Linked DNA regions of Homo sapiens: region 1 is linked to region 2. Evidence: promoter capture Hi-C in 16 types of primary human blood cells and fetal thymus (Javierre and others, 2016). All regions are on one chromosome and are shown on one strand. The core of a region is centred on a gene start or on the middle of the fragment in contact, and the rest is flanking DNA. Distances in the headings are between cores, read along the strand shown.

The links. Contacts are between HindIII fragments. The CHiCAGO score rates a contact against its expected background, and 5 or more counts as called.
Region 1: a contact is called between a fragment that was not itself captured here and the fragment with the promoter of NCOR1 in region 2, in 1 of 17 cell types (M2 macrophages). The highest score is 7.0, in M2 macrophages.

Annotation. Positions count from the first base shown.
Region 1 is chr17:16,270,693-16,277,292 of GRCh38, forward strand. The region is part of intron 2 of PIGL (phosphatidylinositol glycan anchor biosynthesis class L); the gene reads left to right. Among named protein-coding and RNA genes, the nearest start is that of MIR1288, 8.0 kb to the right of the region's middle. The HindIII fragment of the contact is 3,447 bases long and covers 1,991-5,437 here.
Region 2 is chr17:16,213,055-16,219,522 of GRCh38, forward strand. It overlaps NCOR1 (nuclear receptor corepressor 1), which reads right to left and starts at 2,480. Exons shown (of 46, transcript NM_006311.4): 1 at 2,308-2,480. PIGL (phosphatidylinositol glycan anchor biosynthesis class L) reads left to right here and starts at 4,156. Exons shown (of 7, transcript NM_004278.4): 1 at 4,156-4,407. The coding sequence starts at 4,173. RefSeq lists enhancers at 1,276-2,192, 2,193-3,108, 2,686-2,745, 3,932-4,181 and a silencer at 1,946-2,415. The HindIII fragment of the contact is 4,024 bases long and covers 20-4,043 here.

The DNA.
Region 1 (6,600 bases), core at 2,464-4,963, 59 kb after region 2:
TTGAGACCAGCCTGGCCGACATGGTGAAACCCCATCTCTACTAAAAATACAAAAATTAGCCGGGTGTGGTGGCGGGCACCTGTAATCCCAGCTACTCGGGAGGCTGAGGAGAATCACTTGAACCCGGGAGGCAGAGGTTGCAGTGAGCCGAGATCGCGCAACTGCATTCCAGCCTGTGCGACAGAGCGAGACTGTCTCAAAAAAAAAAAAAGAGAAAAGGAAAAGTAGTCATGATCCCTCCCTTGGACTCATTTCCAGTGTAAAGGTTATTAACCTTTTTGTAATTGGGATGTATTATGAATGACTGCTCAATTCAACAATGTACCTTTTTCCTCAGTAATTCCTAAAGAAGTCATAGAATGTATGTATTTCTTTATTGAATAAAGTCTATTAAAATTATTGTGATTCTAAGGCATCTTAGGGAATTTCATTATGTCTCCTAAAGCTAGACTCAAAAATAGAATTAGGAATTATTCTTCTTTAGCAACCTTCATTATGTCTCTTAAAGCTAGACTCAAAAATATAATTAGGAATTATTCTTCTGTAGCAACCTCAAGCAGTCCAGGATCAGTCCTCAGCTCCACCTTTTGTGACAGTGGGCAGGCACATTCATGCTCTGACCCTCAGGCTTCTCTTCATCAAATAGGAGCCTTGTGTTAGATTATCTCTGAGGTTTTTTCACAACTAGCATTTTGTGGTTCAATAAACAGAATAATTGTCCTGCAAATAGGTACGTACCCTAAATAGGGTTACAGATAAAATACAAAGTGCCTAACTAAATTTTAGTTTCAGATAAACAATAATTTTTTAATGTTAAGTGTGTCCCAAATTTCACATAGAACACTTTTTTTTTTTTTGAGATGGAGTTTTGCTCTGTCGCCCATGCTGGAGTGCAGTGGTGCAATCTTGGCTTACCGCAACCTCCACCTCCTGGGTTCAAGCAATTCTTCTGCCTCAGCCTCCTGAGTAGCTGGGACTACAGGCGCACACCACCACACCCAGCTAATTTTTGTATTTTTAGTAGAGATGGGGTTTCACCATATTGGCCAGGCTGGTCTCAAACTCCTGACCTCATGGTCTGCCCGCCTCAGCCTCCCAAAGTGCTGGGATTACAGGCGTGAACCACTGTGCCCGGCCAGAACATAATTATACTAAAAAATTATTCACTTGTTTATCTGAAATTCAAATTTTATTTTATTTTATTTTCATTATTTTTTGAGACATAGTTTCCTCTGTCTCCCAGGCTGGTTTCAAACTCCTGGCCTCAAGCAATCTTCCCACCTTGGCCCCCGCAAAGCACTGTGATTATAAGTATGAGCCTCCATCCATGCCCAGCTTAAAATCAAATTTTAACTGGCATCTGCTATTGGCAACCCTAACCCCAAAGCCATTGCTTTTTATCCCATTTTGTGAAAGTCAGTGTCACTATTTCCCTACTGTGAGCTTGCTTATTTCTGCCTTTTATCCTTAGCCTGAAACAAGTTGTGAATATCAAATTTCCACTCACTCCATTGCTTTACCTATGAAATAAATTCCCAGAACTTAGAATAGTTAACAGCAATCTGTTTCCTAGAACTAGCTGCCAGGACTACACCTGGACATCTGTTATTTACAGCCTCATTATTGACATTTTGTCAATAGTTCTGACCTATGCCATGTAATCTGTTATAGTCATAGCATGCCTTCCTGGAAATTTTCATTTGCCTCTATTCCTATTGTATTATTTGGGTTCTTTCCATATTTGTTTGTTCAAGATTCTCTCATCATTAAAAACAAATAAACAAAAACCTCTACTTAACCCTCCTCATCCCATTACTGCTCTACTTCTCTTCCTTCATAACCAAGTATTATCTACATGCATTGTCTTCACATCCTGTTATTAATTCCCCAATGCATTAAATTCTGGCTCATCGTCCTACTACTTCTCGCTGCCATTGAAGCTCCTCTTTCCAGAGTCACTGGTTACTTCCTATTTGTGAAATCAGTAGGAAGCTTTTCAGTCCCAGTCCTACTGGACCTCTCAGCAGCTCTGGCCAATGCTGACCACTCCCCCAATCCAGAAACCACTCTTGGCTTCTGTAACAGTCCCTGGCTCCAGCTGTCCTCCTACCTCCTTACTTCCCTGGCCACTTGGGTCGGTCACCTTCAGCCATTCTTGTCATCTGCCTGGTCCTCTATGATTCTCAGTGTTCGATGCACACTCTGTAGTTGTGATTGAGGTATTTACAAAAAACTGGTGCCCCACTGAGCCAGGTTCACGTGGAAGTTGGGATGAAACAGGATTCTGAGAGGACATGGGAGGAACATGGGTTTCACTTTGTTTCTTTATTAATCTTTGAAATGTGTTTGTTTATTCATTTAGCACTCATTTTTTGAGCATATACTATATCTCAAATATCAGGTCCTAGGAGTACAAAATGGCAAGTCAAGTCCTTGCCCTCAAGGAGCTTGCAGTCTAGGAAAAGCCAACAAACCAACTAATGATGTGAGGACAGCACACAAAGGTACCATGGACTCAGATGCAGGAGCCAGGAAAGACACTAGAGACAGGTTGCCTGTGATCTGAGCTTTAAGAGACAAGTAGGAATTAGCCAGGTGCATTCCATATGAGTTCTTCCAGATAGCTGGAGTCCACATGCCTGAGGGAATATGACAGAAGATCAAGTGAGGGAGCCAGGCAAATGCCAGATCACAAAGACCATGTGTCAGGTGAAGGTTATGGAATTGAAATGTCTTAAAACTATAAGGAGCTTTGAAGTACGTCAAAATGGGCAATAAATTGATCTGATTTTCATTTTAGAAAGACTTCTTTTGACAACACTGTGGAAAGCAGCTTGGGAAGGGGGCTCCAGACTTGGTGCAGTGGAACCAATAGGTATGGTCACGTGAGAAATCAGAGTCAGAAAAAAAAGCAGTGGCAGGGGAAATTGAGAGGAGATAGTTTCTAGTGCTGCTACAGAGGTAGCTATTCTAAGGCTTGATGACCAATTGGTTGTCAAAGATAAGAGGGAGGAAAAAAAACAAAGGGTCTCCCAGATGTGTGCATTTAGTGACTGCATAATGCATCACCTCCACTAAATGATTCATCTGTTCTTCATCCCTGTTAGTCTGGACACCAAAAATATCACTCTGCCTAAAGGGGGGAAACATTTCTTTGAGGGAAAACCCTTTTGCCCTATAGCTAAACTAAGCCATTGGAAACTTTTTAGGGCAGAAATGTCAGAGGCATGAACAGGGCTTCTGGAGGAGGGTGAGGTCTCCAGGTTCTCCTGGCTAGTGAAGAGGCTCATGTTCTCATTAGCAAACTGATGGCCTCCATCGATGGCCGTGATACTCACAGGGCGTGGTTCAAAGCCCCAGATCATCAGGGCTTCTAGAGTCTACTTAATCAGGACAGGCATTTATTTAAAGTGCTCTGAAGCTAACTGTCACAAATAGGGAACCTTAGTACTGGTCAGTTGGGAACCAAGGTTATTACCAAGAAGATAGTGTCAGGTGTCAAGTGTGGAAGTCAGGACAAGGCCAGATGTAGGAGATAAGAGTGAAACCAGACGTGAGAAGGTTGGAGCGTGTAAAGGAAATGGGTCACAGGACAAGCAGTTCAGACCTGAGGCCAAGAAGAGGAAGGCAAGAGTTCTCTTGCGGATCTCAGCTAGAAAACATTGCTGTAGAACATAGGTCACTTTGTTTGTTTGTTTATTTATTTATTTATTTTAAGCAAAAGCAAGTTTATTAAGGAAGTAAAGGAGGCCGGGTGCGGTGACTCACACCTGTAATCCCAGCACTTTGGGAGGCCGAGGCGGGTGGATCACCTGAGGTCAGGAGTTCGAGATCAGCCTGGCCAACATGGTGAAACCTCGTCTCTACTAAAAATACTAAAATTAGCCGGGCGTGGTGGCAGCCACCTGTAATCTCAGCTACTTGGGAGGCTGAGGCAGGAGAATCGCTTGAACCCGGGAGGCAGAGGTTGCATTGAGCTGAGATAGCCCCATGGCACTCTAGCCTGGGGGACAAGAGCAAGACTACGTCTCAAAAAAAAAAAGAAAGTAAAGGGATAGGCCGGGCACTATGGCTCACTCCTGTAATATCAGCGTTTTAGGAGGCCGAGGGGGGCGGATCACCTAAGGTCAGGAGTTTGAGACCAGCCTGGCCAACATGGCAAAACCCCGTCTCTACTAAATATACAAAAATTAGCCGAGTGTGGTGGCTTGCGCCTGTAATCCTAGCTACTCAGGAGGCTGGGGCAGGAGAATGGCTGGAACCCGGGAGGCAGAGGCTGCAGTGAGCTGAGATCACACCACTGCACCCCAGCCTGGGCAACAGAGCAAGACTCCGTCTCAAAAAAAAAAAAAGAAAAGAAAGAAAGTAAAGGAATAAAGAATGGCTGTTCCACCGGCCAGCAAAGTGGGATGCTCCACTAAGGACACTTACAGTCATTTTCTGATTATACTCTAAACAAGGGCTGGCTTATTGAGTTTTCTGGGAAAGAGGTGGGCAATTCCCAGAACTGAGGGTTCCTCCCATTTTAGACCATAGAGCGTAACTTCCTGACGTTGCTATGGCATTTGTAAACTGTCAGTGGCACTGGTGGGAGTGTCTTTTAGCATGCTGATGCATTATAATTAGCGTATAATGAGCAATGAGAACCACCAGAGGTCACTTTCATTGCCATCTTGGTTTTGGTGGGATTTTGGTGGGATTTTTATTGCAGGTTGTTTTATCAGTAAGGTCTTTATGACGTGTATTTTGTGCTGACCTCCTATCTCATCCTATAAGTAAGAATGCTAACCTCCTGGGAATGCAACCCAGTAGGTCTCTGCCTTATTTTAGCCAGCCCCTATTCAAGATGGAATTGCTGTGGTTCAAATGCCTCTGACATATTTCACCCCTTCCTTTTATAAGAGAACCCTTAATCCTAAGGGCTGTAGAGGGATGAAGATCCATCTTCTGTGACTTCTTCAGGCTGAATAGGGGCAATGATATTACTGCCTATTAGGGTCTCTTGTATTTGGGGTAGAGAGGAGCTCTGTCAGAAAGTGTCAGTATGGAGGCTGGGTGCAGTGGCTTACACCTATAATCCCAGTGCTTTGGGAGGCCAAGGCAGGCAGATCACTTGACATCAGGAGCTCAAGACCAGCCTGGGCAACATGGTGAAACCCTGTCTCTACTACAAATATAAAAATTAGCCAGGTGTGGTGGTGGGTGCCTGTAATCACAGCTACTCAAGAGGCTGCGGCAGGAGAATCATTTGAACCCAGGAGGTGGAGTTTGCAGTGAGCCGAGATCAGGCCACTGCACTCCAGTCTGGGTGACAGAGTGAGACTCTGTCTCAAAAAAAGAGAAAGAAAGCGTCATTATGGTGAGGGCCATTTATAACTCTGACAAAAGGTGATATCTGAAAGATTAATAAGTGTTCAATTTAAGAAAACATTCAGTAAGCTTATCCTGCATTCCTACACAAAGAGTACAACAGCAACACATTCCACAATGGTAAAGCAAAATAAGTAAAATTATTCAAAGTAAACTAAATAAGAAGTCTTTCCATGAACTGGGCAATTGTTGAAACCAAGTTGATATGGGGTCACTAGCTTATTCCAATATGTGCCCAGAATTAGAATATTGATCCAGATTTTTACATTATCTATCCCTCTTGTTTCTTCTAAGTAGCAGCCAGAGATCACTGGTTGGTTCTCAGGAATAAGCAGTCAGTTTAAATTGCAGAAAAAAAACTTAAAAACTACTGATAAGACTAGACTCTGGCCGGGTGTGGTGGCTCACACCTATAATCCCAGCACTTTGGGAGGCCAAGGCGGGTGGATCACCTGAGGTCAAGAGTTTGAGACCAGCCTAGCCAACATGGCGAAACTCTGTCTCTATGAAAAGTACAAAAATTAACTGGGCAGGCGTGGTGGCGGGCACCTGTAATCCCAGATACTCAGGAGGCTGAGGCAGGAGAATCACTTGAACCTGGGAGGTGGAGGTTGCAGTAAGGCACAATTGTGCCACTGCACTCCAGCCTGGGTGACAAGAGTGAGACTCCATCTCAAAAAATAAAATAAAATAAAATGACTAGACTCTGATAACATGCGTACCATAGTTTTTGAAACATAACGTTTTTCTCTCCAGTCTCCCATTTTTACTAAAGACAAATCATGGTAACTGATTTGCTTTGTTATACTTGGCCTCATTATTTGTATAAAGTGCAGCAACAATAATTATTTTTCACATAGGCTTTTAAAATCAGCTTTGATGGAATTTTGTTCCTTAGAAGGAATCTCAGATAAGACTTTTTTAAAGCTGAGCCCAGCCATGGGTCTGTACCCTCAAATATCTATATGAGTTGGGTAAATTTCTCTCTTCTTGAGATCCCAAGATAACTTGGGGCTCCTGGACTTGTCATAAAGTGACATTCTTTACTTACCACAGGTCAAGAACCCTGTACAGGGACTACGTAGACAATGTATGAGGCCAGTTTTCCTAAGGGGCTTTTATTGGCACTGTAAGTCAAGTTTGATTCCTTAAAGGAAAGAGTGTCATTCCAGTCAAAGCCTTGGTGAAAAAAAAGTTTCTCCAATTGTGTTCTGATACAAAAGAAAACAT
Region 2 (6,468 bases), core at 1,230-3,729:
TCCAAAAAAAAAAAAAAAAAGCTTTAAAAAAGTTATTAACTAATCTAATCTTTCCTATAAGTTAATTTCCATCATTTCATTCTTTTTTGATTAAGAGGATAGGCAAAACACAAATTTTACTGTTTTTTAAATCCAACAAGTATTCAATTAAAAATAAGCCAGGCACGGTGGCTCACGCCTGTAATCCCAGCACTTTGGGAGGCCAAGGCAGGCGGATCACGAGGTCAGGAGATTGAGACCATCCTGGCTAACACGGTGAAACCCCGTCTCTACTCAAAGTACAAAAAAATTAGCCAGGCATGGTGGCACGCGCCTGTAGTCCCAGCTACTCGGGAGGCTGAGGCAGAAGAATTGCTTGAACCCGGAGGCGGAGGTTGCAATGAGCTGAGATTGCGCCACTGCACTCCAGCCTGGGTGACAGAGCAAGACTGTCTCAAAAAAAAAAAAAAAAAAAAGATAAAATCAGCGAAGGGCCTATCCTGCTCTCAAGAGATAAAATAGGTACATAAATACCTACAAGATAGAAAGTGTAAATGCCGCGAGAGATGTGCAGAAAAAGCATTACAGGAGCCCAGAGGGAGCTGTTACCACCTCACAGAAATATAACCCCTTCAATCTGTTTAAAACAATTTTATAACTATTAACTCCCTTTAGGCTCACAACAGCCAACCCTAGGAGAGTAGATGTTTACCTAATATTCAAGATGAGGAAACTGAAGCACAGAAAGGTTGATCAAGTTCCAAAATCACATAGTTAGAGCAAGAATCAAGATACTTTGTATTATATTTTCTCCGGGGGAGTAGTTCAACATATGGCAAGCCTTTTGTAAAAGGAAAGAGTATTTTAGTATTGTAAGTAATCAGTTCCTACTGTGAGCATTTTATACATAGCTATATCCATATATACAATTAATCTTGATTTCCATTAACAGGTGTGCTTAAAGCAAGGCCAAGCAACTGGGTACTATAAATATTAAAACAAATAAATAAACTTCCACCGGATGTTAACAGAAAAAGAAAAAAAGATACAAGATTTCTCTCTCCAGTAACTTGCGGTTACTTCTTCTGTAATTGTTACCCTTGTCTAAATAACATTCTAAAATTGGTCTGCTCCTGAGCCCGGGCAAGTACAAGTTGGTTCATCCAATAAATATCTTCATGAAAAGGTACATCAAAACATTTTAAAAAGCTATTAAAAATTAAACGATGCCATCAACTCTTCAGTTATCCACAGGACAATCACATGTGACCCAGCATCAGCAGCTATTGATCAAGATATATTGAACGAATGAATGAATCTTTGTAGGCATTTTTAAATCCCGGGCCTGTTGCTCCTTGCACAGTGCCATGTTCAGCCTTCCATCACTGCCTCACCAGGGTGCACACAAGGAATGTAAATTTCAATATAATTAGGATATAATTAGAGAAGCAAATCTGATGCAGGTTTACATACTAATCCCAAAGATTAGAATTACCTATACTACTACTCTCCAAGGTTAACTCTGTGGAAGAGGCACCGCAGCATGCAACATCACATAAAGAAAACTGACACTTCCTGAGCAAATAGTTTTCGTCCATATCACTTATTCCCATCCATTCCTTTAATACATGACTATTCCTGATCCAGTTAATTTGAAGAATTCAGTCTCCTCTCCATAAAGGCTGATTTCACAACTACAGTTTCTCAAATTCCTCTCTCCCCAAAAAGGGGTGCACTTACGGACTTCGCTTAAGAAAACACCAACAATAAACGGCAGAAGGTATAGTGTTCGGATCTTTGCCATCTCCACCAGTACCCAGCCTTCGCCATTACACCCTGAAGCGGTCTGTTAGAAAGGTGAACTAATTTACTCTGCACGCACTTGTCCATGGCTGTCAACCTCCGCAGCCCCTTCTACACTTCCAAGTCGGCCACCAACTCCGCCTCAGTGAGCCCAGGCCCGCCACCTGCGCCGGCCCCACCCGGGGCACCGGCTGCCCGCTCTCCCTCGCAGGCCCTGTAGGCTCCGCACGCCCCTCCGCACAGGACACCTCGGGGCCAGCCCCGGCCCGGCCACAGCCCATTCTTCCTCCAAACTCCATAAGCCTCCGCTAGCCCAGCCCGAGCTCCCCGCCGCGCCCGGCTCTCTCCTGGGCTGCCGAGTGGAAGAGGCCAGGCGGCCAGGACGGGTCCCGACCTGCCCAGGCCTGCGACACCCCCCGCCCGGCGGAGAAACCGTCCCAGCGGCTGCTGCCCCGGGAGCCCTCGGAAGCCCCCGGACTAGCAGGAGCCCGGAGGCCGGGGTTGCAGGCGCCAGGGCCTACTCACCGGGAGCTGGCTAAGCGTGGGAGCCGACGTGCGCCCCGGCCTGAGGAGTGGGACGCGGCCACGGCGCGCGGCCCTACACCGGGACCTCGTTCGGCGCGGCGAGTCGGACGCTCACTCCAGCCGCCGCCGCCGCCGCGGCTGCTGCTTCGCCACCTTGGCCGCCATCTTGACTCAACCCCTCTCCCTCCCCCCAGCCCGCGGAGCCGCGGCTAAGGCGGCTCCAGCGCCGGCTCCTCCTCCTTCCGGAGAGTTGGGAGACCAACTCCCTCCGCTGGCCGGGCGCCTCTCCTACCTCGGCGGAGCTTCCCGGGTCGCGCTGCGCCCGGTCTCTTCATGTCTCCTCTAGGCCTGGCAGCGGCGGTCCTCTCGGACGGATACGGGGCCGAGCAGCGCCCAGCCGGATCCAGCGCTGCTGCCATCGTGCCCTGGGCTTGTGCGCCCCCCGCCTGCCCGTCTGTTCCGCGCGCCCGAGGCCTTCCTCAGGCGTGGGAAAAGGAAAAACTCCAGGCCGTGGAAGGGACCCTGCAAACCCCTCCGCGGCGTGGTGGGGCGGCGGCGGCCTCCTCTGGCCGGAGCTGCGTACAGGGAAGCCGGTCCCCTCGTGGCTGGGAGCTGGAGGGGTGCATTTCGACCTGCCCAAGATACTTTCTAGGGCTCTGGCTGGAATTCGCACCAAGCCCTCACTGAAATGCTGGGCGAGGCCGATTTGTCCACGATGTTGCTCCTTAACCTTAAGTTACTTGCAAGAGGAGCCTGTGGCCCTCGCGACTGTTAAGTGCACGCTCAGCCTCACCCTGCTGGGGAAACGACGGTTCCTCGTAACCGCACGCATACGTTCCTTTAGAAAAGCCAGGCCCGACCGGACGCAGTGGGTCACGCTTGTAATCCCAGCACTTAGGGAGGCCGAGGCGGGCCATCACTTAAGGTCAGGAGTTCGAGACCAGCCTGACGAACATGGAGAAACCCCGTCACTACTAAAAATACAAAAATTAAGCGGGCGTGGTGGCGCGCGCCAGTAATCCCAGCTACTGGGGAGACCGAAGTGGGAGAATTGCTTGAACGCGGGAGGCTGAGGTAGCAGCGAACCTAGGTCGCGCCACTGCACTCCAGCCTGGGCGACGGAGCCAGACCGTTTCAAAAAAAAAAAAGAAAGGGCCGGGCGCGGTGGCTCAGGCCTGTAATCCCAGCACTTTGGGAGGCCGAGGCGAGCGGATCACGAAGTCAGGAGTTCGAGACCAGCCTAGTTAACATGGTGAAACCCCCTCTCTACTAAAAATACAAAAATTAGCTGGGCGTGGTGGCGCGCGCCTATAGTCCCAGCTACTCGGGAGGCTGAGGCAGAAGAGTCGCTTGAACCCGGGAGACAGAGGTTGCAGTGAGCCGAGATCGCTCCACTGCACTCCAGCCTGGGCGACAGAGCCTCTCAAAAAAAAAAAAAAAGGTAAAGAAAGCCATCCAAAAGTGAGAAGGAATAACAAAGTTGGTGTAACTGGCTATTTTGGAAAACTGTCATACGGATAACGGGCTGTCTAACCCTATAATTACGAGAAAGGCCCGAGTTTTAAGAAATGAATTCGAAAATGAAGAGGAAGGAACTCTTCCTATAAGTGGGAGCTTATATATAAGACGCTTCCTTTTAAACCGATTGTACAGTGTGGTAGGACTAGGGTAGGAAACTGGACGGCATGGAGACTTCTGTGTTAAAACACAAGAGAACCCTTAACGTTAAAACCTCAAGCTTCCGGAGCATGTCGGCGGGAGGGACTTAACAGCGGAACCCAACATTCCCCGGTGAAGTTTTCCAGCCGGAGTCAGGGTCAGAGGCAGCCTTTCCTACTGCGCAGGCTCAGTGCTGCTTACCCATCATGGAAGCAATGTGGCTCCTGTGTGTGGCGTTGGCGGTCTTGGCATGGGGCTTCCTCTGGGTTTGGGACTCCTCAGAACGAATGAAGAGTCGGGAGCAGGGAGGACGGCTGGGAGCCGAAAGCCGGACCCTGCTGGTCATAGCGCACCCTGACGATGAAGCCATGTTTTTTGCTCCCACAGTGCTAGGCTTGGCCCGCCTAAGGCACTGGGTGTACCTGCTTTGCTTCTCTGCAGGTAGGAGGCCATAGGAGGGGCGATGGGAGCCGGGGCTTTGAAAGGGATTTAAGTGCTAACCGATCTCAGTCGCCTTCTTCTCGAAGTTTTCCGTAGGGAGCTAAGTGAATACACCGAAGGTCTTACCTCTGAACCCCTCACAGCCTAGGGACAGGAGCGGCCGGCTTACCTGGTGGGTTGGGGGACGTCGGCAGCTCGCGTACTACGCCAGCAGGATTGAGGAGCAGAGAAACAGTTGCAGTTGGTTGTATTCAGTACCTGCATTTCCGTTGGGAACTCCACCTGTACTTGTTATTCTGTGGAACTTTTTTTTATTTGTAGAAGGAGCAAGAATATTGACCTTACTATATAGCACACGAAACAATCTATGCTGTATCGTGCCTGCTCAATCCTTAAAGTTAACTTCTAATGATAGTAAAAGACCTTCCTGCTGCCTTTAAAATGCAGCTTGTGCTAGTAACATGCATGTGTCAAATTGAAGAATTAGACATAGATGACTAGATAGAAAGTAATTTTGTAGGTAATTTTAGAGTTCAACTCCACCCAGCTTTCAGTGAAGGAACCTTTCAAATAATAGATTTTTGCTTACCATAGAGAAAAGATCAAATGACAAAGCAAATATTGACCATTAAGCTGGAATATGGTGATAATTGAACAGTTGTATAAATGAAGTAATTGAATTGTACACATACAATGGGTGAATTTTATGGCATGTCAAAGTATACCTCAATAAAGCTATTTTTTTAAATTGCCCATGACCTCTTTTCCCATTTGTTTGTGTGTCTTTCCAATTCTTTTTCTATACAGCTTCTTCACAGAAATCACATTTTATAAAATTTTATATCGTTTTTACTCGACATTACTTTTTCATTTATTTACCAAATACTTATTAAACATTTATGTGCTAGGCCTTATTCTATGCCCTAGGGATACAAAAGTGGAAAGCTAGATAAGAGCAGTGTCCTCATGAAACTTTAAACATCTACCTATATTAATTAGATCTAAATGTATAGCCTGTTAAATGGCTTCATCGGGATAAACCTTAATCATCCCTTATTGTTTGTACATTCAGAGGGTTTTTTCCTAGTTTATTGCAAAGAGCAGAGAACATCTTTATGTATTTTATATTATTTCATGAGTATTAATTTTTAAAATTGGCTGTTTTTAGGCTTTGCATTGCAAAACACATTCCCAAAAACAAAATGCCAACTTACTCTTTTTTTTTTTTTTTTTTTCTGAGATAGTCTCGCTCTGTTGCCCAGGCTGGAGTGCCGTGGCGTGATCTCGGCTCACTGCAACCTCCACCACCCGGGTTCAAGTGATTCTCCTGCGTCAGCCTGCCAAGTAGCTGGGTTTACAAGCGCATGCCACCACACCTGGCTAATTTTTGTATTTTTAGTAGAGATGAGGTTTCACCATGTTAGCCAGGCTGGTCTCAAACTCCTGACCTCTAGTGATCCACCTGCCTTGGCCTCCCAAAGTGCTTGGGATTACAAGTGTGAGCCACCATGCCTGGCCTACCTATTTACATTCTTACTGGCACTAATGAGAGTATCTGTCTTAATATACTACTTTCTGTAGCATTGACTGACATTTTTTATAAATTTTTTTTTTTTTTTTTTTGAGACGGAGTCTTGCTCTATCGCCTAGGCTGGAGTGCAGTGGCGCAATCTCGGCTCACTGTAAGTTCTGCCTCCTGGGTTCACGCCCTTCTTTCTGGGACTACAGGCGCCCGCCCGCCACCATGCCCAGCTAATTTTTTTATTTGTTTTTAGTTTTTAGTAGAGACGGGGTTTCACTGTGTTAGCCAGGATGGTCTTGATCTCCTGAACTTTTGATCTGCCCGCCTCAGCCTCCCAAAGTGCTGGGATTACAGGCGTAAGCCACCACACCTGGCCATTTTTTATAAATTTCTTAATTTGTTTAGTATCTTCTCCCCCAAAAACCTTTGTTACCAGTAAAAGTAAACCATTTTACATATTTATTAAGAATTGGAGCCCAAGCACTTTTCTTCTAAAATTTATGCTCTGTTAAGAATATTAATTGCAAATAGTTACAAGT